Linked DNA regions of Homo sapiens: all the other regions are linked to region 1. The links are contacts of gene promoters, found by promoter capture Hi-C in human tissues and cell types (Jung and others, 2019). All regions are on one chromosome and are shown on one strand. Each heading gives the region's core, a stretch centred on a gene start or on the middle of the fragment in contact. The rest is flanking DNA. Distances are from core to core; before and after follow the strand shown.

Region 1 (5,663 bases), core at 209-2,708:
GAGTCAATCTGGCAATATCCTTTATTTCTCCAGTAGTGAGCCAACTGCTTGAAGTCTCATGCTAGAGTCACAAGGACACTATATCAAAGGCTGCTGCAGCCGAGGGCAGAACAGAATCAAGGTAGAGTTAGCAGCCTTAGTGACAAATTCTGAGCCCAGAACTTGCAGGGATGGATAAGAGACCCTGAAACACAAGCATGGACCACAAGGTCAAGAATCCCTGGTGTACTCTACTATACATATACACACACAGAAACAGACTCGCAGTGTGCATAGATGAACACACATAAGCTTTACCTTGTCTTCCTCCCCTATATCCTTAGACTTGTAAGGGAACTGCCATCTGCTTGGGGTTGGTGGGGGATGGAGCTGCTATTAAAAAGGTAGTGTCAGAGGCAATGACTCGAATCTAAGCCAAACAACAGATTAAACCTCTAACCTGTTGTAACAAAAATTAAACATTTTTATAGAGAAAATAGTTTCATTATTTTAGTCACTGATGTTACAGAAGCTGTAATGACTGAACGGACTCTCAACAATAACAAAGTGAATCTGTTACTTGGAAGAAACTAGGAGAATTTCTTCTTAATACAGTGCTCAAGGTTCCCAAGGGAACTGTCAGGGGAAAGGGCGAGCCATTTATCTGCGTTGCATGTTAATGCCAGCCGATTCTAGCCTTTCACTATCAGAGGGTTGGGAAGACCAGCGGGTTGGACTGGAAAAGAGTGAAGAGGTTGGTGTGACTTCAAGTCCTTTAAGTGCTTCTATAGGAGACAGTTCTTTAGGGATATATTCGAAACCAGGATTCTCGAAGGAAACCTTAGAACCGGCCTGATCTGGAGGAGAACCGACACCACCTCTCCCCAGGCTCCAGCTCCGAGCCCTGCTGAGGCACAGTCGTGCCACCAAAGACAACTGTTTACAAGGCCCTGCGGAGGTGATGCGACAGCCTTGCCTTGCCTCCTGTCGCCTCCCCTTCCCGGCCAAGTCCCTCTGCCTCTTACTCCTCTTCAGCCGCAGGGTCGAGGTCGAGGGCAGCGGGGGAGTCGGGGACCGTGCGACGCGCAACGCTGGGACTGGGCCCACAGCAGCCTCCACCCCGTCTTTGCCCTCCCGCAAGCCACGAGCACGGGAGCCCGCGCGTGGACGGGCTCGGGCTGTCACTGATCGCGCGGACACTCGCGCGCTGCGCCCGGACATCAATACCTGTCGCTGGGACCCGGCCGACGGGCAGCCGGAGCGGCCCTAAGGCCACAGGCAACAATGGCGACGCTGGCACAGGCGCCTGCGTGGCGGGCTCAGTCCCGAGCGGCAGCGGATCCTCGGGCTCCGCCACTTCCCTTCCCCGCAAAGCACAGAGTGTCCCGGCCAGGAGCTGCACGTTCCAGCCCGGTCCTGAGAAGCCCGGCCCAGAAACCCCGGCGCCTCTGCTTAGCCGCGACCTCGCCTCGGCGTCACTGCGCATGTGCGCCAGAGGAACGCTGCGCGCCCGCAGAGCCAATCGGAGCCCAAGCTGCCGCCTCCCCCTCCCGCGCCTCTGGCCCTGGACCTGTCTCCATGGCAACCTCCTCCACCCATCGCTCTGACTTGCTTGTCAGCCTGCGAGGTTCCGAAGGGAACTTCAAAGTTTCCCCGGGCAGACGCAGGTCTGGTAGACGTCTTGGAGGCCAGGGAGGTGCCAGTAGCTGGAGGAGCGCCGGGAGTTGAAGCCCCGCGCCAACTACGCAGAGAAAACTGGGCGCCAGATTTCCTAGAGGAAGAATGGGCAGGGAAGATGTGGGTCTAAAGGCAGAAAGACTTAATGTGCGGTTTCGGGCTTTACTGTGCATACATACTAACTGTGAAAGGTTTTCACTTCCTCCTCAGGAATTTGATTCTGAGACTCTCAGATTGGGGGAAAAAAACCCATGTTCTTTCTTTCTTTCTTTTTTTTCTTTTGAGACGGAGTCTCGCTCTGTCGCCCAGGCTGGAGTGCAATGGTGCGAGCTCGGCTCACTGCAACCTCCGCCTCCTGGGTTCAAGTGATTCTCCTGTGTTCAAGTGATTCTCACTTGAACTTCCTGGGTTCAGCCTCCCGAGTAGCTGTTATTTCTAAGAGACACAAAACAAAAATACATAAAACACTGGAAAAATAAAAGCATAGAAAAACATATTCAAGGTGTTCCCGTTATCTACTGTTCTATTAACAAACCACCCCAAAACTTAGTGGTTTTGAAGGACAATCACCGTATTATGCTCATAAATTTCATGGTGAGGAATTTGAAAGGGGAACTGAGTGGGTGGGCCTTTGCCTCATTATGTCTGTAGCCTCTGTTGGGATGATTTGATGGCTGGGAGGGCCCGCTTCCAAGATGGCTTTTCCACTCACATGTCTACTGCTTGGGAGGAGATGGGCTAAAAGATGAACTCGGCTTGTGTTTGACCAGAGTGCCTCAATGTGGTCTCTCCAGCATAAAGGACTGAGGGCAGCTGGACTTGTTACATGGTGGCTCTGGGCTCCAAGAGTGAGCATTCCAGTGAACAAGAGAGAAGCGCCATGGCCAATTATAACATGGCCTTGGAAGTCACCTAACACCAATTCTGTCAGACTCTTGGTCAAAGCAATCACAAGCCTACAGAGAATCAAATGGAGGCAGAATCCTGTGAGGGTGGAGGAGGACTGTCAAAGACTCTTAATATCACCACACCAGGAAAATTTTAACAAAAAGAAAGTTGGACCGGGCGCGGTGGCTCACGCCTGTAATTCCAGCACTTTGGGAGGCCCAGGCAGGTAGATCACCTGAGGTCAGGAGTTTGAGACCAGCCTGGCCAACATGGTGAAACTCCGTCTCTACTAAAAGAACAAAAATTAGCCTGGTGTGGTGGCGCACGCCTGTAATCCCAGCTACTCAAGAGGCTGAGGCAGGAGAATCACTTGAACCTGGGAAGCGGAGGTTGCAATGAGCTGAGATTTTGCCACTGCACTCCATGTACTCCAGCCTGGGCGACACGAGCAAGACTCCATCTCAAAAAAAAAAAAAAACAAACTTGGGGAGTGTGATGGTCTTTTGATGTGTCAACTTGGCTAGGCTACAGTCTCTTGCTATTTAAGTAAACACGAATCTAGGTGTTGCTGTAAAGGCATTTTGTAGATGAGATTGAAGCCCATAAACCCAGTTGGACTAAGTAGCATGGGAGATTATCCTAGATAATTTGGGTGGGCCTGATTCAATCAGTTAAAAGCTTTCAAAAAAGAACCGAAGTTTCCCTGATGGAGAAGAAACTCCATCAGCGTACCACAGCTTCCAGCCTGCCCTTCCTGATGGGGTGCTCTTATGGACTTTGGACTCACCTGGTCACCCCCTCAATCGAGTAAGCCAACTCTTTGCCACAAGTATCTTAAATATCTACTGGTTCCGCTTTTTTGATTGAACCCTGACTGATACAAGTAATAATTCTAATATCTGATAAGCTAGAATTTGAGAAGATTAAAAGGGAATAAATAAGAGTGCTTGATGGAAAAGATATATTTATCATAAATATACAGCATGTCCCTAACACTAAGGCCTCAAAACATACAAAGCAATAGCTGACATACCTGTAGGGAGGAAAACATAAACCAACAACCAAAGCTGGAAACTTAATACGCCCTATAGTGCACACTGTGGTGCTGCCAGGATCCTCCTTCAGGGTTGAGGCATCCATCCCAGCAGCTGCCGGGTGAGTGGCTGCTGATGGCTCACAGCAAAATACTTCCTTGGGAGTTGTCCTAACTGCAGGGGGCTGCCTCTCACAAGTCACGTCTTCTCCCCGGGGGAAGTCCATATCCAAAGACTGCTCAGTGCAGGCCTCAAAGACCTGGCCCCCTGTCTTCAACTTGCAGCCTCTATAAAGGGCCATCTTGGCTTAAGAGTTCCCTGTGAGACCAACTGAGGCCTCTGTTGCAGTCATACAGCATTTAAACCTATTACTCTGTCCAGTTATCCTTATATCACTCCTGTACAGGCATTTTTTCTAGAGAACACTACCCAGTAATTACCTTGTATGCAATTCTCCATCTCAGAATCTATTTATAGGGAATCTGCCCTACACCAGTTGGTACCAGCAGTTGTTCCAAGAACGCAAACTCTAAAATGGAATTTTTTTCTTTTTGAGGTGGGGTCTTGCTCTGTCGCACAGGCTGGAGTGTAGTGGTGCAATCTCAGCTTACTGAAACCTTTGCCTCCCGGGTTCAGGCAATTCTCTCTGCCTCAGCCTCCTGAGTAGCTGGGATTACAGGCACCCACCACCACACCCGGCTAATTTTTGTATTTTTTAGTAGACACTGGGTTTCGCCATGTTGTCCAGGCTGGTCTTGAACTCCTGACCTCAGGTGATCTGCCTGCCTTGGCCTCCCAAAGTGCTGGGATTACAGGCATTAGCCATAAAATGGAATTTTGAAACTGTGTTACCTGCCACCTAGCTGACAATGAGGGAGGGCCCTATGACTTGTGATTGGCAGAGTAGTGATAATGATAGCATATGTCAGGTTGTAGCAAAGTAATTGTTAAAATTGTCAGTGGTGTTGAACTGGGGTGGAATGTTGACAGAAGGGAACGCACTGGTGGGTGCTATATCTCAGATCTTTATAACACTGGGGGAAGTGGTAATTCTAGAGATGATGGAATTGAATGGCTATTACCAGGAGCTATTGACAATGACGGTGATTAGTGACAAATTAATTGAAAATGTGAGCGTCAGAAGACTTCTTTGAAGCCTGACAGCAAAACAGCTGAGAATCAGGCCCTAACTTCAGCTAAGTTTGAATTCTAAATCCCAGCAAGTTTGCTATGCCAAGGTCAGGATCCTGCTGGGAAGGAGTAGAACTCTGAGATTTGGGATGGGGACATTTTGATTTGTGCATGCAAACACCTTCAAACACCAATCACTCTGAATTTCTCAGGCTTGCTAAAGTGGCCCACTCCTCCAAGTCTAAAGCTAGGGCTCTGCCTTGCTTGAAGATGATGCAGACTGAGGCCTCTACATTGCAATACAACCCGTGCCCCCTCAGGATCTACCTACCCTTTCCTCTCCCTACCCCATCCACTAGACCAATAACTAGAATTAAGTCACCAAAAAAACCCAACAGGGGAAATTCTGGGCATGATAAGAGAGGAAAAGAACCATCCTCTGAAGTTACTACAGGCCCTAGTTTATATGTATCTGTAGGAACCAGGACAGTATGTATGAGACTGGACCCTGAGGATGCTGGATCAAGAAGGTAAAACATATATTAGAGTACCAGAGAGTTTATTGAAAAGGAGCACATTCCTGGCCAGGCACAGTGGCTCATGCCTGTAATCCAAGCACTTTGGGAGGCTGAGGCAGGCGGCTCACCTGAGGTCAGGAGTTCGAGACCAGCCTGGCCAGCATGGTGAAACCCTGTCTCTAGTAGAAATACAAAAAATTAGCCAGGCGTGGTGGCAGGTGCCTGTAATCTCAGCAACTCAGGAGGCTGAGGCAGGAGAATCGCTTGAACCCGGGAGGTGCAGGTTGCAGTGAGCCGAGATTGCACTGTTGTACTCCAGCCGGGGCAACAAGAGCGAGGTTCTGTCTCAAAAAAAAAAAAAAAAAAAAAAAAAAAAAAAGAAGAAAAAGAAAAGAAAAAGAAAAAAGAAAGAAAGAAAGCACACTCCTGTGATACG
Region 2 (5,791 bases), core at 1,713-4,212, 37 kb before region 1:
TTTAAAAAGTGGTTACACGTACAGAAAAAGACAAGGGAATGAGATTCAGGCAGGAGAGGTTCATAGGGGATTTTAATTGTATCTATCATGTTTTAAAAACATTTTACATTTGATTAAGGATATTAGACATCATAAAATAAGCCAGCCTGCTATTTTTGGTATCTAATGAAAATCTCTTTCTTGGTCAGGCATTGTGGCTCACGCCTGTAATCCCAGCACTTTGGGAGGCCGAGGCGGGTGGATCACTTGAGGCCAGGAGTTTGAGACTAGCCTGGCCAACATGGCAAAAAGTGAAAATTGTATTTTTTCTCTTCTTGGGGACCTTCAGCTGTAACAGAAGAGAGAAGAGCTGACTTCTGGAATTAACCAAATGTGAGAGGTCCAGGTTTAGATGCATCTGGGAAGGTGGGGGGCTGCGCAGAGGGACACTGTGTTTAAATTTGTCTTGTTACATCTGGCTGACAGCCTGGCCAAAGCTACAACATTCCTGATCACACAGGTCCATTGTGACTGCATTACGGTCTCATTGCAATTTCCGCAGCCCTGAGGGCCGGCTGGAATTGCCACCAGGGAAGTTAGAGAAACTAGAAGGTGCTTTGTTCCTGGGGCTGGACTTTTCTACTGGAGTTAATATTCAGAAACTCTGGAAATGAGACTGAATCAAATTTCCAAATCCAAATCAAGTTAATTGTACTCCCTATTCTCTTTTACAAATTATCAGCAGCATGCATTAGAGCTGTCAAATCTTTACCCACTTGATGGAAAAGACCAACAAAGCTGCTCTTTTTGAACATTGCTGATTTTTATTTGCTTTTACTTTTTCTAGCCATAACAAGAGATTTTCTCAGAATGCCTTATACTTGGTAAAAAGATTTTTACAGACTTACAGATGTGCTTTTCTCTTAGATGAAGTGTGATTGGATAAACAGTGAACTACTCAATTTTATTTCAATTCTCCAGCATGAAGCCATTGAAAAATACAAAAATTGCATTTTTTAATTTTTTTGAGATGGAATCTCGCCCTGTCGCCCAGGCTGGAGTGGAGTGGCACGATCTCGGCTCACTGCAAGCTCCGCCTCCCAGGTTCACGCCATTCTCCTGCCTCAGCCTCCCAAGTAGCTGGGACTACAGGCACCCACCACCACGCTTGGCTAATTTTTTGTATTTTTAGTAGAGACGGGATTTCAGGATTTCACTGTGTTAACCAGGATGGTCTTGATCTCTTGACCTCATGATCCACCAGCCTTGGCCTCCCAAGGTGCTGGGATTACAGGCGTGAGCCACCGCGCCCAGCTGAAAATTTCATTTTAAACATTCCCTTAATTTTCTTACAAGTTTAAATATCTGAAACATGAAAAGCTGCAAATATCTACATTCATTGTACATCATAAATATTTTATTACTCCTTCGAGCTGCCATTTCTATGATGTACATAAGAGGAATCCCCGGAGCACAGAAAATGATGAGAAAGTTTAAGCCAAGTTCAACATGAAAATGATTGGCTTATTTTCCTTTAAACCTCATGGCACCCAAGACGCAGCTTCATGCGCACCTTGTTATTGTTGCTCACAAACCCACCGGTCACTCTGCTTCCCACTTATCTTCTAGAGACTTTTGTTCACAAACCCCAAGCCTTAGCTTCATGCTCCATGAAGTCAATGTCCACAGGATGATAGTTCCACTTGCCCTGCTGTTCTTTGAACCTCTTATCTCCACCCCCCGCCCCCCACCCACCCCCACACACACACACACACACACACACACACACTGGCATCCCCATGCCTCACCAGCACCAGCACCTCTACCTCTGGAACATTCACCCCAGACATCTCCTCTCACCACCACCAGTACGTCAGCTACTTGCTCGAGAACTCATAATATTCAAATCCTTTTACCCCTGGGAGAGCTCTGTCCTGAGTGCACATGTTCCTGTTGCCAGAAAAGAGGGTCCCGATCCAGACCCCAAGAGCAGGTTCTTGGATTTCACGTAGGAAAGAATTCAGAGTGAATCACAGAGCACGGTGAAAGAAGCAAGTTTATTGGAAACTACCCTGTTACAGAGTAGGGCATCCTCAGAAAGCAGGAGGAGGAATGCATCGTCCTTTGTTAGTGCTTCTACTTGTAAGAAACTTCAAGGAAGCCAGGCGCAGTGGCTCACACCTGTAATCCCAGCACTTTGGGAGACCAAGGCGGATCACCTGAGGTCAGGAGTTCGAGACCAGGCTGGGCAACATGGTGAAACTCCATTTCTACTAAAAATACAACAATATAGCCGGGTGTGGTGGCGTGAGCCTGTAGTCCCAGCTACTCCGGAGGCTGAGGCAGTTGAATCGCTTGAACCTGGGAGATGGAAGTTGCAGTGAGCCGAGATCATGCCACTGCACTCCAGCCTGGGCAACAGAGCAAGACTCTGTCTCAAAAATAAAAAGAAACTACAAGGAGCTATGACTAAACTTGGGACGTGCCTACGTACTCACTAAAGGTAGGGGCTATAGGCATTATCGATTTTACATGACCATTATAATCCTTCAACCTAAGCCTGTTCATTGGCATTATCTCCAAGTAAAGAGCGCTGCATTCCGGCCGGGCGCAGTGGCTCACGCCTGTAATCACAACGCTTTGGGAGGCCGAGGTGGGCGGATCATGAGGTCAGGAGATTGAAACATGGTGAAACCCTGTCTCTACTAAAAATACAAAAAATTAGCTGGGCGTGGTGGCATGAACCTGTAGTCCCAGCTACTGGGGAGGCTGAGGCAGGAGAATCGCTTGAATCCGGGAGGTGGAGGTTGCAGTGAGCTGAGATTGCGCCACTGCACTCCAGCCTGGGCGACAGAGCAAGACTCCATCTCAAAAAACAAACAAGCAAAAAGAGTGCTGCATTCTGAGGACATCTGGCAAGCTTGTCCAACCCATTTGATTTTGTTGTTGTGTTGTTCTGTTTTGTTTTATTTTGTTTTAGGCTTTTAGCAGCCTGAAGCCACGGTTTTTAGTTTCTGTCTCTAGTGATAAGCGGAAAAGAATGAGGAAGGGGCTTTACTGGCCCAACCAGAAACAGAAACTAAGAACCCATGACTGGGCTGGGAGAGGTGGCTCACGCCTATAATCCCAGTACTTTGGGAGGCCAAGGCGGGCAGATCATGAGGTCAGGAGATTGAGACCAGCCTGGCCAATATGGAAACCCATCTCTAATAAAAATACAAAAATTAGCTGTGTGTGGTGGCGGGCACCTGTAGTCTCAGTTACTCTGGAGGCTGAGGCAGAAGAATTGCTCAAACCCAGGAGGTGGAGGTTGCAGTGAGCCGAGATCGTGCCACTGCCCTCTAGCCTCGGCAATAGAGCAAGACCCTGTGCAAGACCCAGGCTGGAGTGCAGTGGTGTGATCATGGCTCACTGCAGCCTCAAACTCCTGGCTCAAGGGATTCTCCTGCCTCAGCCTTTCAAGTAGCTAGGACTACAAGTGTAGGCCTGCATACTCAGCTAATTTTTATTTTTCTATTTTTTTTTTGTAGATATGGGGTCTTGCTGTGTTACCCAGGCTGGTCATGAACTCCTGGCCTCAAGGGACCCTCCCACCTTGGCCTCCCAAAGTGCTGGGATTACAGATGTGAGCCACCATGCCTGCCCTAATCACATTCTTTAAACTGTGTATACTTTTACTGATTTTTTAAATCTGTTTATTTTACCAGTTACTGACAGAGGTATGTTATCATATTATGATTCAGGATTTACTTTTCCTTTCAATTCTGACAGTTTCTGCTTTATATATTTTGAGATTAAGTTATTGGGTACATTTTAAAGGTGCAGTTATGATTATCTAGTGGATTAATGCTTGTATCATATTATTCTTCATTTCTAGTAATGCTTCTTGCCTTAAAATGTATTTTGCATGATATTAATATAGCAACATTAACTTTCGATTAGGGTTTGTGTGGTATACCTTTTCTCCATGCTTTCACTTTCTACTTTTTGTGCCCTGAAATTTACAATGCATCTTTTATAAACAAAGTAAGTTTTAAAAAATTCAGTCTGACAGTCTTTGATCTTCTCTTATTTATCCATTTATGTTTAATATAATTACAAATGTGTTTGGGTTTAAGTCTACCTTCTTGCTATTTGTTTTCTATTTGTCCCACCTTATCTATGTTTCTTTCTCTCTCCTTATTTTCCACCTTTTGGAAATTCTCCAAATGTTTGTCATTAAAGGACTGCTTGGATACACTGTAGAACAACCAAACAATATAGTAATATGCAACTGTAAAAAGGAATGAGAAATATCTCTGTGATCCTTAGGATTTATTTTTATGTGGGAAAAACAAGATGGATGGATGCGTGAATAGTATGCTACAGTTTAAGAGAGAATGGAAGGGATAGAAATATATATGTACACATTTGTTTATGCTAAAAAGTGGAAGAATAAACCATAAAATTTAAAAGTGATTAGCTACAGGAGAGGGAGTGAACTGGGTAGAGGGCATAGGAATAGAAGTTGGGTTTCTCTAATGTACTTTGTTTTGTGGATTCTACTTTGATAGCATAAAAAACTTTTCCTAGTTTTAAAACCAAAATATATTAAAGAAAAAACAATCCATAAACCTTGAAAGTACAATGAAACAAAGGAACTTGTGTGTATTAGTTTCTTGTGGCCACTGTACAAAGCACCACAAACTTGGTGTCTTGGAACACTTTCTCAGTTTGGGAGGCAAGAAATCTGCAATCAGTTTCACTGGGCCAAAATCAAAATGTTGTCAGGGCCATGCTCCCTCCAAAGGCTCTAGGGTAAAATCCATTCCTTGCCTCTTCCGGTTTCTGATTACTGGCATTTCTTGGTTAATGACTGCATCACTCCAATATGTGCCTCTGTGGTCACATTATCATCTTCTCCCCTGTTAAATTTTCTTCTGCCTGTCTCTTATAAGGCATTTGTAATTTCATACAGAGCTCCCCAGGAAAAACAGGATAACCTCCCCATCTCAAGATCCCTAATTATGCACACCTAAAATCCATTCTGACATTATAAAGTAACATTCACAAGTTCTAAGGATTAGGACCTGGATATCTTTGGGGGCCATCATATGGTCTACTACACTGTGGAGTTGGTGTTATAACACCCAGAGAAAAATTATTCCAAGTTACTTTAAGTTTCATTGACTTGACTGTACATCTCTAGTAGGGTATACTCTAAGGACAAAAATAATTTTTAAAAAATCTTAAACTTTTCCATAATAATGGTGGTGGTACTATTATAATTGTTCTGAAATTTTTAAAAATGTGTGTATTGTTTGATAAAGTAAATGAGTAATTATATTGGCATAACTGATAATATTTGGGTTTCCAACATTGGAGAATAGAGATACAGATATAAGACTGATGAGGTTAAGTAAAAATCCTGTTGCTTGAATTTGAATTGGGAGTATCGGTTTGAACTGTAGCTCTATTTGGGAGAGGTCTAGACACATCACTATTCAACACTGATGAGTAGCCCTTGCACCTAGATTGTGGTTTGTAAATACCATCTCCCACCAAAAGGAACCAGGGCCTCCTGAAGAAATCATTAAATCTAGGTATGGGGAAAGAAGTGTGCCAGTTGAACCTCGTATACCTTATCATTTCAGAAAACAAAGAAGTATTGACAACTAGGGTGATGTTAAAGGCCTCAGGAATCAACCTAAAAAGGCTTCCACAGGTCAAAGACGGAACAATTTGAGTATCAATAGGAATAATAACTACAAGGATTTGAAACACACGTCACATGAATTTGTTATATAACAACACTTAAGAAGCAAGCAAATAA
Region 3 (5,457 bases), core at 277-2,776, 58 kb after region 1:
GGCACAATCTCAGCTCACTGCAACCTCCACCTCCTGGGTTCAAGTGATTCTTGTGCTTCAGCTTCCGAAGTAGTTGGGATTACAGGCATGCGCCACCACATCCAGCTAATTTTTCTTATTTTTAGTAGAGAAAGCATTTTGCTATGTTGGCCAGGCTGGTCTCCATCTCCTGGCCTCAAGTGATCCACCCTCCTCGGCCTTCCAAAGTGCTGGGGTTTCAGGCGTGAGCCACTGTGCCCAGCCAATTTTATGATTTTAAAACCCACTTTTAAGCAGTATGATTTGTCTATGTTATTTTACTTTTATAAAATTTAAATTAATATTTTGTCATGCTGTTGCTATTTATCATTCTTTTACTTTTAAATAGTTTTAATTAGTTTGAGCATATTTTTTGCTGTCATAGGATATTATATTGCCAGTATCTGATAAAAAAAAAAGTTTGCTCTCAGAAAAAAAGCTATAAGGCTGGGTGTGGTGGCTCATGCCTATAATCCCAGCACTTTGGGAGGATGAGACAGGAAGACTGCTTGAGCCCAGGAGTTTAAGACCAGCTTGGGCAACACAGTGAGACCCCATCTCTATAAAAAATTAAAAATGAGCTGGGCATAGTGGCACACACTTGTAGTACTAAATACTTGGAAGGCTGAAGCTGGAGGATCCCCTGAGCCCAGGAAGTTGAGGCTGCAGTGAGCTATGATTGCATCACTGCACTACAGCCTGGGTGACAAAGTGAAACCCTGTCTCAAATAAATAAATAAATAAATGAAGGCCGGGCACAGTGGCTCACGCCTGTAATCCTAGCAGTCTGGGAGGCCAAGGTGGGCGGATTACCTGACATCAGCAGTTCTAGACCAGCCTGGCCAACATGGTGAAACCCCGTCTCAACTAAACACAAAAATTAGCTGGGTGTGGTGGCACACGCTTATAATCCCAGCTACTCGGGAGGCTGAGGCAGAAGAATTGCTTGAACCCAGGAGGCGGAGGTTGCAGTGAGCCGAGATCACGCCACTGCACTCAGCCTGGGAGACAAGAGAGACTCCATCTCAAATAAATAAATAAATAAAAAAGAAGAAGAAAAGCTATATAAAACATATCTATAGCACCAATTTGGAATTCAGAAACTAATATTAAATTTAAAAGGTCAAAAGAATATGAAGTTGGAAAGCAGAAAAATTTGCTGCAAAATGCACTAAAATTATAAAAGCTTAGAGTACATAAAGGTTGTTGTTATATTAGTAATTAGAAATTTTCTTCAATAAATTTATTTGTAGAAACTTAATTTATATGCACTAAATTCTCATCTTTCTTGAGTGAAAGTAAAATGTTACTCCCAGACAACAAGCATAAAAAACAGAATAAAAACTTTTATATTTGAGAGGTCTGCACTTTGGGGATGTCAGAGGAAGTCATTTGGACCAACTTTATTGCTGAGAACAATTTGAAATGTTGGACAAAAGAACAGTCTGTTTGAAAGCATCTGAAAGCTAGAAAGACTTAACAAATTACAAGGAGAAGAATGAAACCCAGAAAAACAATCCTGGTATTTGGTGCCATTTTCCCCTTCAAATGCCTGTTAATTCTCTAAGAAATGACTGAGAGGCTGAATAAGTAAGCAGAACTCTTAATAAAGTCATAGGGCAAGAAAGACAGAGACGGATTTAGGTCCATTAAGGAGGACAATTCTGGAACAACTAGGGTTTGGCTGGAACCTTAAGGTGATAAGCCCTACAAATAGAACGACTAAGAAATAGATCGGCTGGCTGAAGGACTAAAACCCACCTCATTTAAATTTCTCATTGAATTAAAGTGAATGAAGATTGTTATAGTCCCTAGCCTAGCAGTCTGGCAAAAGCAAACATTAATCCTCTGTGGGAAAGATTACATAATCTAGAACCTCCTAATATTACTATAGATTTTCATAGTCAATGCCTGATACCCAGTAAAAAATAACAGGCATAAAAGGAGACCACGCTGGGCATAGTGGCTCACATCTTGTAATCCCAGCACTTTGAAAGGCCAACAAGGGCAGATCACCTGAGGCCAGGAGTTCGAGACCAGACTGGGCAACATGGCAAAACCCCATCTCTACTAAAAAATACAAAAAAATTGGCCAGGCATGGTGGTGCATGCCTGTAGTCCCAGCTACTCAGGAGGCTGAAGCAGGAGAATCACTTGAACTTGGGAGGTGGAGGTTGCAGTGAACTGAGATTGCGCCACTGCACTCCAGCCTGGGTAAAAGAGCGAGACTCTGTCTGCCTCCCCCGACCCCAAAAAAAAGGGAGACAAAAATCAAAAGTCACATGGGAAAAAAATCAAGAGAGAAAACAAATATACAGAAACAGATCTAAAATGAATCCAAATAATTGAGGCCTCAGACATAAACTTTAAAATAACTAGGATAACTATATTCAAGAACATAAGATTAACAATCTCACAAAGATTTGTAAAGTATAAAATAACCAAATGAAAATTCTAGAACTGAAAAATAAATATAGTAACTTAACTCAAACTATGGGCTAAGAGCACAATAGAGACAGCACATGAGAGAGTTAGGGAAATGGAAGATAGGTCAGTACAAAGTATCCATACTGAAACACAAAATGATGAAAAACTTGCAAACGTTAGAAAAGCAGAAGAGACATCCAGGATAGGGTGAAAAGGTCTATCACAGATGTAACCAGAGTCCTAGAAGGTTACAAAGAGAAGTGAGAGAGAATGGACAGAAGCTAAGTCAAAGAAATAATGTCTTAGAATTTTCCACAAGAGATAAAAAAAAAAAATCAAGTCACAAGTCTTAGAAGCCAAATGAATCTTCAGCATGAGAAATATGAAGAAAACTATATTAAAGTACACAGTAGTAAAACCGTTGAAAACTAAACTCTTAAAAGCAGCCAAAAAAAGAGAGACAGGGAAGGGCACAGTGGCTCACACCTGTAATCCCAGCACTTTGGGAAGCCAAGATGGGCAGATCCCCTGAGGTCAGAGTTCGAGACCAGCCTGGCCAATGTGGCGAGACCCCATCTCTACTAAAAATACAAAAATTAGCTGAGCGTGGTGGCAGGTGCCTGTAGTCGCAGCTACTCAGGAGGCTGAGGCAGGAGAATTACCTGAAACCAGGAGGCAGAGGTTGCAGTGAGCCGAGATCACGTCACTGCACTCCAGCCTGGGCGACAGAGCGAGACTCCATCTCAAAAAAAAAAAAAAAAAAAAAAAAATCTGTCTCTCTCTCTTTTTTTTTTTAAACAGTGTCTTGCTCTGTCACCCAGGCTGGAGTGCAGTGGATTGGATTACAAGTCTGTGCCACAACGCCCGGCTAATTTTTGTATTTTTAGTAGAGATGGGGTTTTGCCATGTTTCCCATGCTGGTCTTGAACGCCTGACCCCAAATGATCCACCCACCTCAGCCTCCCAACACCTGGCCAAAGACAGATAGATGTCCTTTAATGAGCAACAATTAGATCAGAGGTTACAAATTATAACCAATTTGGCCCATCATCTGTTTCTGTATAGCCAGCAAGATAAGAATGATTTTTATATTTATTTTTATTTATTTATTTACTTACTTACTTACTTATTTTGAGACCGAGTCTCACTCTGTTACCCAGGCTGGAGTGCAGTGGGCAATCTCAGCTCATTGCAACCTCCGCCTCCTGGGTTCAAGTGATTCTTGTGCCTCTGCCTTCCGAGTAGCTGGGATTACAGGCCAGTGCCACCATGCCTAGCTAAAATTTGTATTTTTAGTAGAGACGGGGTTTCACCATGTTGCCCAGGCTGGTCTCAAACTCCTGGCCTCCAGTGCCTGCCTTGGCCTACCAAAGTGCTGGGATTACAAGCATGAGTCACCACGCCTGGCCAATTTTTACATTTAAAATGGTTGAAAAATATATTAAAAGAATGTGAGACATTAAAAATGTATGAAATTCAAATTTCAGAGTCCATAAGTGAAGTTTTAGTGGAGCACAACCACATTACTTGGTTAATATGTTGCCTATGGATTCCTTGGTGCTACAATGGCAGAGTGGAGTAGTCACAGCAGAGAGTCCTTATGATCCAACAAAGCCAAAAATATTGCTGCCCTGCCTTTTATAGAAAAGTTTAGACAGATGGTTCACTTCTCCACAGATTGTACATAAGACAGAAAACAATAAATGATACCTTTGAAATGTTGAAAGAATATAACTGCCAATCTAAAATTTCAAACTTACCAAAAATATCCTCCCAAAATGAAGGCCAAATGAAGATATTTTTAGAAAAAAAAAAGAGAAGAGGCTGTGCGTGGTGGCTATTGCTTGTAATCCCAGCGCTTTGGGAGGCCGAGGTGGGTGGATCACCTGAGATCAAGAGATCCAGACCAACCTAGCCAACATGGTGAAACCCCATCTCTACTGAAAATACAAAAATTAGCTGGGCATGGTGGTGCATGCCTGTAATCCCAGCTACTGAAGAGGCTGAGCGAGTAGAATCGCTTGAACCTGGGAGGCAGAGTTTGCAGTGAGCCGAGATCACGCCATTGCACTCCAGCCTGGGCGACGAGAGTGAAACTCAGTCTCAAAAAAATAAAAAATTAACAATATACTACCTTAAAAATAAAGACAAAAAGTACAAGAATACACAGAAAGTGAAAGTTAGCAGATGAAAAAAGATATACTATACAAATAACAACCAAAAGAAAGATGCTGTAGTAATATTAGTATCAGACAAAACAGATTTTAAGGCAAAAACTTTTAAGAAATGAGATACTTCATAACGACAAAAGCCAATTTACCATACAGATAACAATTATAACTTTGTATTTACATAATAACACAGCTTCAAATACAGAAAGAAAAAAATTAAATGAACTAAATAGGAAGCAAATGTATAGTCTCACTAGCAGACTTTAAAAAATCTTTCTCAATTGATAGAATAAGCTGTAAGTATACAGATTTTAACATAATTAACAAACTTAATCTCCTGACACATCTAGAAATTGTACTCAATACTCAATACCTACCTATAGGCTGTACATTTTTTCAAGAGCACAAAATGTTTACAAAATTCTGCAAAGACTGACATAATTCAGAGCATCCTGTCTGACCATAGTAGAATTAAAGTCAACAAGATTGCTAGAAAATTCCCAAATGGCACAAAATTAAGAAAAACATTTAAAAATAACCCAAGGATAAAAGATATCACAATAGAAATTATAAAATATTTTCCACTCAAAAATTATGAAGATGCTACATAAAAAAGTGTGATATAGTTCTGATAGCCCTAAACAATTAGAAAAGAAGAACAGCTGAAAATCAACGATCTAAGTACCTAATTCAAGAGGTTAGAAAAGATCCACAAATTAAGCTCTAAGAATGGAATAAAATAATAAAGAACAGAAAGTAATAAAACTCAAACATACAAGAAAAAGGACTAAAAACAGTAATGTTTTTAAAAGCCAAGTAATGTCAGGCATGGTGACTCACA
Region 4 (5,808 bases), core at 3,202-5,701, 59 kb before region 1:
TGTGCAGACTGCCCGCCTTATAGAGGCTCTCAGGAGAATTCGTTTCCTCACCTGTCCCAGCTTCTAGGAGTTGCCCGAATTCCATGGCTCATGGCCCCTTCCAGCAATCACATCACTCTGGCCTGTTTTTGTTTTTATCTTTCTCTCCCTGATCCTCCTGCCCCCATCTTCTAAGGACCTTTGTGATTACAGTAGGCCCACGCAGGTATTCTCGTATAATGTTCCCATCTCAAGATCCTTAATACAATCATATCTGCAATGTCCCTCTTGCCATGTAGGGTAACATATTCAGAGGTTTGAGGGATACGGTTGTGAGTCTGCTTGGGGAGAGGGGCATTGTTCTGCCTACCACGGTTGTGCTCTTGCCTTTTTTCATGGGTCAGTATAAGAGAAGCCTCCTAATAGAAAATAAAAAGTGTTAGCCAGGATGTGGAGAAATTAGAGCCCTTGTGCCCTGCTGGTGGGAATGTAAAATGGCGTGGCAGCTGTGGAAAACAATATGGTGGTGCCTCAAAAAATTCAAGATGGAATTTCCATGTGATCCAGCAATTCCACCTCTGGGTATATACCCAAAGGAGATGAAAGCAGGGACTCAGTCAGATACTTGTGACCCCATGTTCACAGCAGCATTCTTCACAATAGCCAAAAGGAGGAAGCAACCCAAGTGTCTATCAATAGATGATGGATAAACAAATGTGGAATATACAGACAGTGGAATGTTATCCAGCCTTGAAAAGAAGGAAATCCTGACAAATGCTACAACATGGCTAAACCTTGAGGACGTTATGCTAAATGAAATAAGCGAGACACAAAAGAAGAGCTATTGTAAGATTCTACTTATATGAGATACCTAGAGTAGTTAATTTCATAGAGACAGAAAGTAGAATGGTGGGCCTAGTGCAGTGGCTCATGCCTATAATCTCAGCACTTTGAAAGGCCAAGGCAGGAGGATTGCTTGAGGCTGAGAGTTTGAGGCCAGCCTGGGCAGCATAGTGAGAACCTCTCTCTACAAAAAATTAAATTAAACTGAAAAAAAATGTAGAATGGTGGTTGCCAGAGGCTAGGATAAGAGAATAGGGAGTTACTGTTTAATGGGTAGAGTTTTTGTTTCCTAAGAAGGAGGTGGAGTTCTGTAGATAGATGGAGAGTCTGGGTTTTCTAAAATGGGGAGAGTTCTGTAGACAGATGATGGTGATGGTTGCATAATAATGTGAATGTGGCTGGGCGCGGTGGCTCACGCCTGTAATCCCAGCACTTTGGGAGGCTGAGGCAGGTGGATCACCTGAGGTCAGGAGTTTGAGACCAACATGGCGAAACCTCGTCTCTACTAAAAACACAAAAATTAGCCAGGCATGGTGTCACACGCCTGTAATCCCAGCTACTCGGGAGGCTGAGGCAGAGAATTGCTTGAACCCAGGAGGTGGAGTTTGCAGTGAGCTGAGATTGCACCACTGCACTCCAGCCTGGGCAACCGAGTGAGACTCTGTCTCAAAAAAAAAAAAAAAAGTGAATGTACTTAACACTACTGAATTGTACACTCAAAAGTGGTTGAGATAGTAAATTTTATGTTATGTGTACTTTTTACCACAATTAAAAAAATGAAGAGTGACATATCAGCATTTGCATGTGCAGTATTGTTCATTTTTTTGTTCAATAAACTCTTTTTTAAAAACAATTATTTATTTATTATTATTTTTTAAGAGATGGGGTCTTGCTTTTTTGCCCAGGCTGCAGTGAAGTGGCATGATCATAGCTTACGGTAGTCTCAAACTTCTGGACTCAAGTGATTCTCCTGCCTCAACCTCTCAAGTAGCTAGGACTACAGGCGTGCCACCATGCCCAGCAAATTTTTCATAGAGACAGAGACTCACTATGTTGCCCGGGGTGATCTCAAACTCTGGGGCTGAAGCAATCCTCCAACCTCAGTCTCCCAAAGTGCTGGGATTACAGGTGTGAGCTACCATGCCTGGCCTCAATAAACTCTTATTAGTGAATAAGCATTCTCCAGATCCTGTGTCAGGCACTGGGGCTCCCAAGAAGAATAAGACACTGTCCCTGTCCTCAGAGCTCATGGTTTCAGAGGGACAAGGCACACAGTTGAGCAATGTATGCAACAGAGTGCTCTAGAGTATTCTGGGTAATAAAAGCCTACAGGTGACTTGAGGAATATAGGGGAGGGAGTGGCTGGTTCTTCTGGCAGGCTACAGTGCGAGTCAGGAAGCCTTTCTGGAAAATGTAACATGTGACCTGATTTCTGAAGCCTGAACAAGTAGTCACCAAGCTTCGGGGGTTAGGGAGGGAGAAGTTTGAGCAATGCAGGGGCCTGACATGTCGTGGTGTGTTCATGGCTCTGCACTTGGTTCTTTGGGGCTCGAGGTGACAGAGGAAGCCTGGGCCAGCAGCGGATAGGGTAGAGAAGGAAGCAGAGGCCAGACTACAGAGAGTCAGTCTCTGGCTGGGTGAGGTGCTGGACACTCCCTGTAGGCCATGGGAATGGCCTATAGGACAGATTCTGAGCAGGAGGGTGACAGGATCGCCTTGAAGTTAGAACCATCACTCGGCAATGCAAGATTACTTATCCGATTTATTCATTCTTGCTTCCAGACTATGTAGAAACTGGCAAAAAGCCTAAAAGTCTAGTGTTTTCAGGCCTGTTTGGAGAGAATGATGGACATGGGTTTGTGAAATATCAAATGCTTGTTCTGACCCAAATTGCTCATAATCAGAAAGAGTACCTTTTCTTTTTTTTCTTTTTTTTGAGATAGGGTCTTACTCTGTTGCCCAGGCTGGAGTGCAGTGGCATGATCATAGCTCACTGCAGCCTTGAACTCCTGGATTCAAGGGATCCTCCCAACTCAGCCTACTGAGCATCTGGAACTACAGTGTATGCCAACACACTTGGCTAATTTTGTATTTTTTAGTAGAGAGAGAGTCTCGCTATTTTGCCCAGGCTGGTCTTGAACTCCTGGCCCCAAAGGATCCTCCCACCTTGGCCTCCCAATGTGTTAGGATTATAGGCCTGAGCCACTGCACTCAGCCAGAGGAGTATGAATACTTAGATATTTGCACACAAATCTCAGTCTGACATAAGTCTGCAACTCCAGCAGCAAAAAAAAGTCTCTATTCTCTTTTCTCAGCAGTGTTTCAAATTGAGCCTTATTGATTATGACCTTGTAGTTTATCTCTCGCAAGTAGCTTTCTAATAAAAAATACTTATGTAACTGTCTTTACTTAATGTTCAAGAGTCTAGCATATTCTCCGTGAATCAGGAGACTAATATTTTATGCTGGCAGTGACACAGAAACCCACAGTTCATTGTCTGAGACTACAGCTTGTCCCAAAGATCCCCATGGAACACGAAGTAATCCCCATCAGCTACAGCCAGAAAATCAGTTTCCTATGAAGTTAGAACAATACGGCTGGGTTTCCAGGAGGTAAAGCATCCTGAAGCTTTGCTGGATGGTATTATTTCTGGTTTTCGCCAGGCTGCAAAGAATTTTCACTTGTTATAATAGGGCAGTCCATTTCCTGCAAAGAAATATCTTTCCTAGGGGTCTGTCTACTCTATAGCTCACAATGTTCAGAAATAACAAGAACTTTACAAGTGTTTACAAACATCGTCTTGTGTTAGGCAAGTATCAAAAAATCTTGTCTCTCACAGACGTTTCAGAGAATCCACACAAATAACTCAGAAAGTCTGTTCATTGCAGAAAAGCTAGTATGAGTTTGCCTTTTTTTTTTTTTTTTTTGAGACAAGTTCTTGCTCTGTCACCCATGCTGGAGTGCAGTGGCGCAATCATGGCTCACTGCAGCCTCAAATTCCTGGGCTCAAGTGATTCCCCTTCTTCAGCCTCCTGAGTAGCTGAGACTATAGGGACATGCCACCATACCCAGCTAATTTTTTTTTTTTTGAGACAGAGTCTCACTCTGTCACCCAGGCTGGAGTGCAGTGGTGCGATCTCAGCTCACTACAACCTCCGCCTCCTGGGTTCAAGCAATTCTCCTGCCTCAGCCTCCGGAGCAGCTGGGACTACAGGCACGTGCCATCATGCCCAGCTAATTTTTGTATTTTTAGTGAAATGGGGTTTCATCATGTTGGCCAGGCTGGTCTCGAACTCCTGACCTGAGGTGGTCCACTCGCCTCGGCCTCCCAAAGTGCTGGCATTACAGGTGTGAGCCACCACACCCGGCGAATACCCAGCTAATTTAAAAAAATTTTTGTACAGACAGGGTCTCACCACGTTGCCCAGGCTGGTCTCGAACTCCTGCACTCAAGCCATCCTCCTGTCTTGGCTTCCCTAAGTGTTGGGATTACAGGTACAAGCCACTGCACCTGGCCTGTTCTGACTTTTGTGCGGCGTGAAGTGAAGAAACTTAACAGGGCATTTCCTTTCGTGCTGTTCTGGCTGTGATGAGCATTTGCAGAATCCCTGGGCATTATTCTCATGGCATTACTCTCTCACTAAAGAGTCTGAGGGCTCGAAGTCATTATCACTCAGTTCTCTCTGAAACTTCAAGTCAGCATCTCAGCTATTCTGTCAATGTTGTGAGCAAAAACTAGTAGCCACACTTTCCAAGTGACAGAGAGGAAGTGTGAGCATGCCACTTCATTACATTTCCTCTCCGGTTGACAGAAGATTCTGACCATTCCTCTTGTTGTCTAGAACAATGGCGGGTGATTTTGTGTCCAAAGGTCATGTGGCAATGTTTAGAGACATTTTCCATTGTCATGACTGGGGTTGAGGGAGCTACTGGCATCAGGTGGGTAGAGGCCAGGGATGTTGCTAAACATCCTACAATGCCCGGACGGCCTCCTCTCCGCGAAAAGAATTTTCCAGTCTAAAATACCAATGGTGTCAAGATTAAGAAATCCTGGTCTAGAACTAGAATCCAAATGCCCCAGTGCCAGCCATTTAGTTCTCTCAGAAAGCAGACTTTTCTGCCCACCCCAATCATGTTCCCCTTTTGTAGTGATGGAAGTTATAACAAGATGCAAGACCAGATTACATTTTCCAGCCTTCTTTGCAGTTTAGTGTGGCCATTTCAGTAGCTCCCACCAATGGAACAAGACCTAAAGTGATGTGTGCCACTCTGGCCAAGGCTTCTGAGAATTCCCTTTTCCCTTCTGCTGGCAAGATGTAGATGACAACTAGGCTGTATGGGAGAGCCATGATGGGAGCCTGGATCCCTGCATCGCCCTATGGCAGAGAGCTGCCCATCGGCTGAAAACACATGCTGCAGTCGCTTATGTGAGTGAGAAATAAACTCCTGTGTTTGAGCCAATTTACATCTTTAGGTCTACTTGTCACAGCAGCTTAGCTCACCCTAGCCAGTAAACAGCCAATCCCCAAGAGCCTATTTTGATGCTAGGAGCCTTAGGAAGCAGAGAGAGCTCTGAATGAGGCAAACATGGCAGGGATCTTTGCCCCTGAGGTTAGCTTGGGTCCCCTCTGCTAAATGGTAGGAGCAGCGCAAGTTCAAGCCTGCCATCAAGGGGCCCTTGCTTTGTTTAGTACAGCCTTGACTTCAGGAGTAGGTTGTGATATGATCCCCACTCTGTGTGATTTCAGCTACGTCATCACGATTAGACACTTAGGCTACTCCGATGGTCCATTTTATCTGTCAGCTCAACTGGGCCACTAGATGCCCAGATATCTGGTCAAACATTATTCTGCTGTGTCTGTGAAGGTGTTTCTGGACGAGGTCAGAATTTGAATCTGTAGACTGAGTGAGGCTGATTGTTCTCTCTAATGTGGGTGAGCTGCATCCCATCAGTTGAAGGCCTGGGTAGAACACAAAGGCTGAGTA

Evidence for each region. The method cuts DNA at HindIII sites, captures the fragments that hold promoters and counts their contacts. A contact is called where the count stands out against the background at its distance.
Region 2: a fragment that was not itself captured here is called in contact with the fragment with the promoter of ZNF287 in region 1 in 1 of the 25 tissues and cell types used here (dorsolateral prefrontal cortex).
Region 3: a fragment that was not itself captured here is called in contact with the fragment with the promoter of ZNF287 in region 1 in 1 of the 25 tissues and cell types used here (mesenchymal stem cells).
Region 4: a contact is called between a fragment that was not itself captured here and the fragment with the promoter of ZNF287 in region 1, in 2 of the 25 tissues and cell types used here (lymphoblastoid cells and mesenchymal stem cells).

Annotation. Positions count from the first base shown.
Region 1 is chr17:16,567,746-16,573,408 of GRCh38, forward strand. ZNF287 (zinc finger protein 287) reads right to left here and starts at 1,459. Exons shown (of 6, transcript NM_020653.4): 1 at 1,207-1,459; 2 at 1-184. RefSeq lists enhancers at 522-1,023, 1,024-1,523. The HindIII fragment of the contact is 5,740 bases long and covers 1-4,818 here.
Region 2 is chr17:16,529,609-16,535,399 of GRCh38, forward strand. No RefSeq gene overlaps it. Among named protein-coding and RNA genes, the nearest start is that of ZNF287, 37 kb to the right of the region's middle. The HindIII fragment of the contact is 8,307 bases long and covers 1-5,791 here.
Region 3 is chr17:16,626,008-16,631,464 of GRCh38, forward strand. The region is part of intron 5 of ZNF624 (zinc finger protein 624); the gene reads right to left. Among named protein-coding and RNA genes, the nearest start is that of ZNF624, 25 kb to the right of the region's middle. The HindIII fragment of the contact is 4,157 bases long and covers 1-3,605 here.
Region 4 is chr17:16,505,923-16,511,730 of GRCh38, forward strand. No RefSeq gene overlaps it. Among named protein-coding and RNA genes, the nearest start is that of LRRC75A, 17 kb to the left of the region's middle. The HindIII fragment of the contact is 7,643 bases long and covers 631-5,808 here.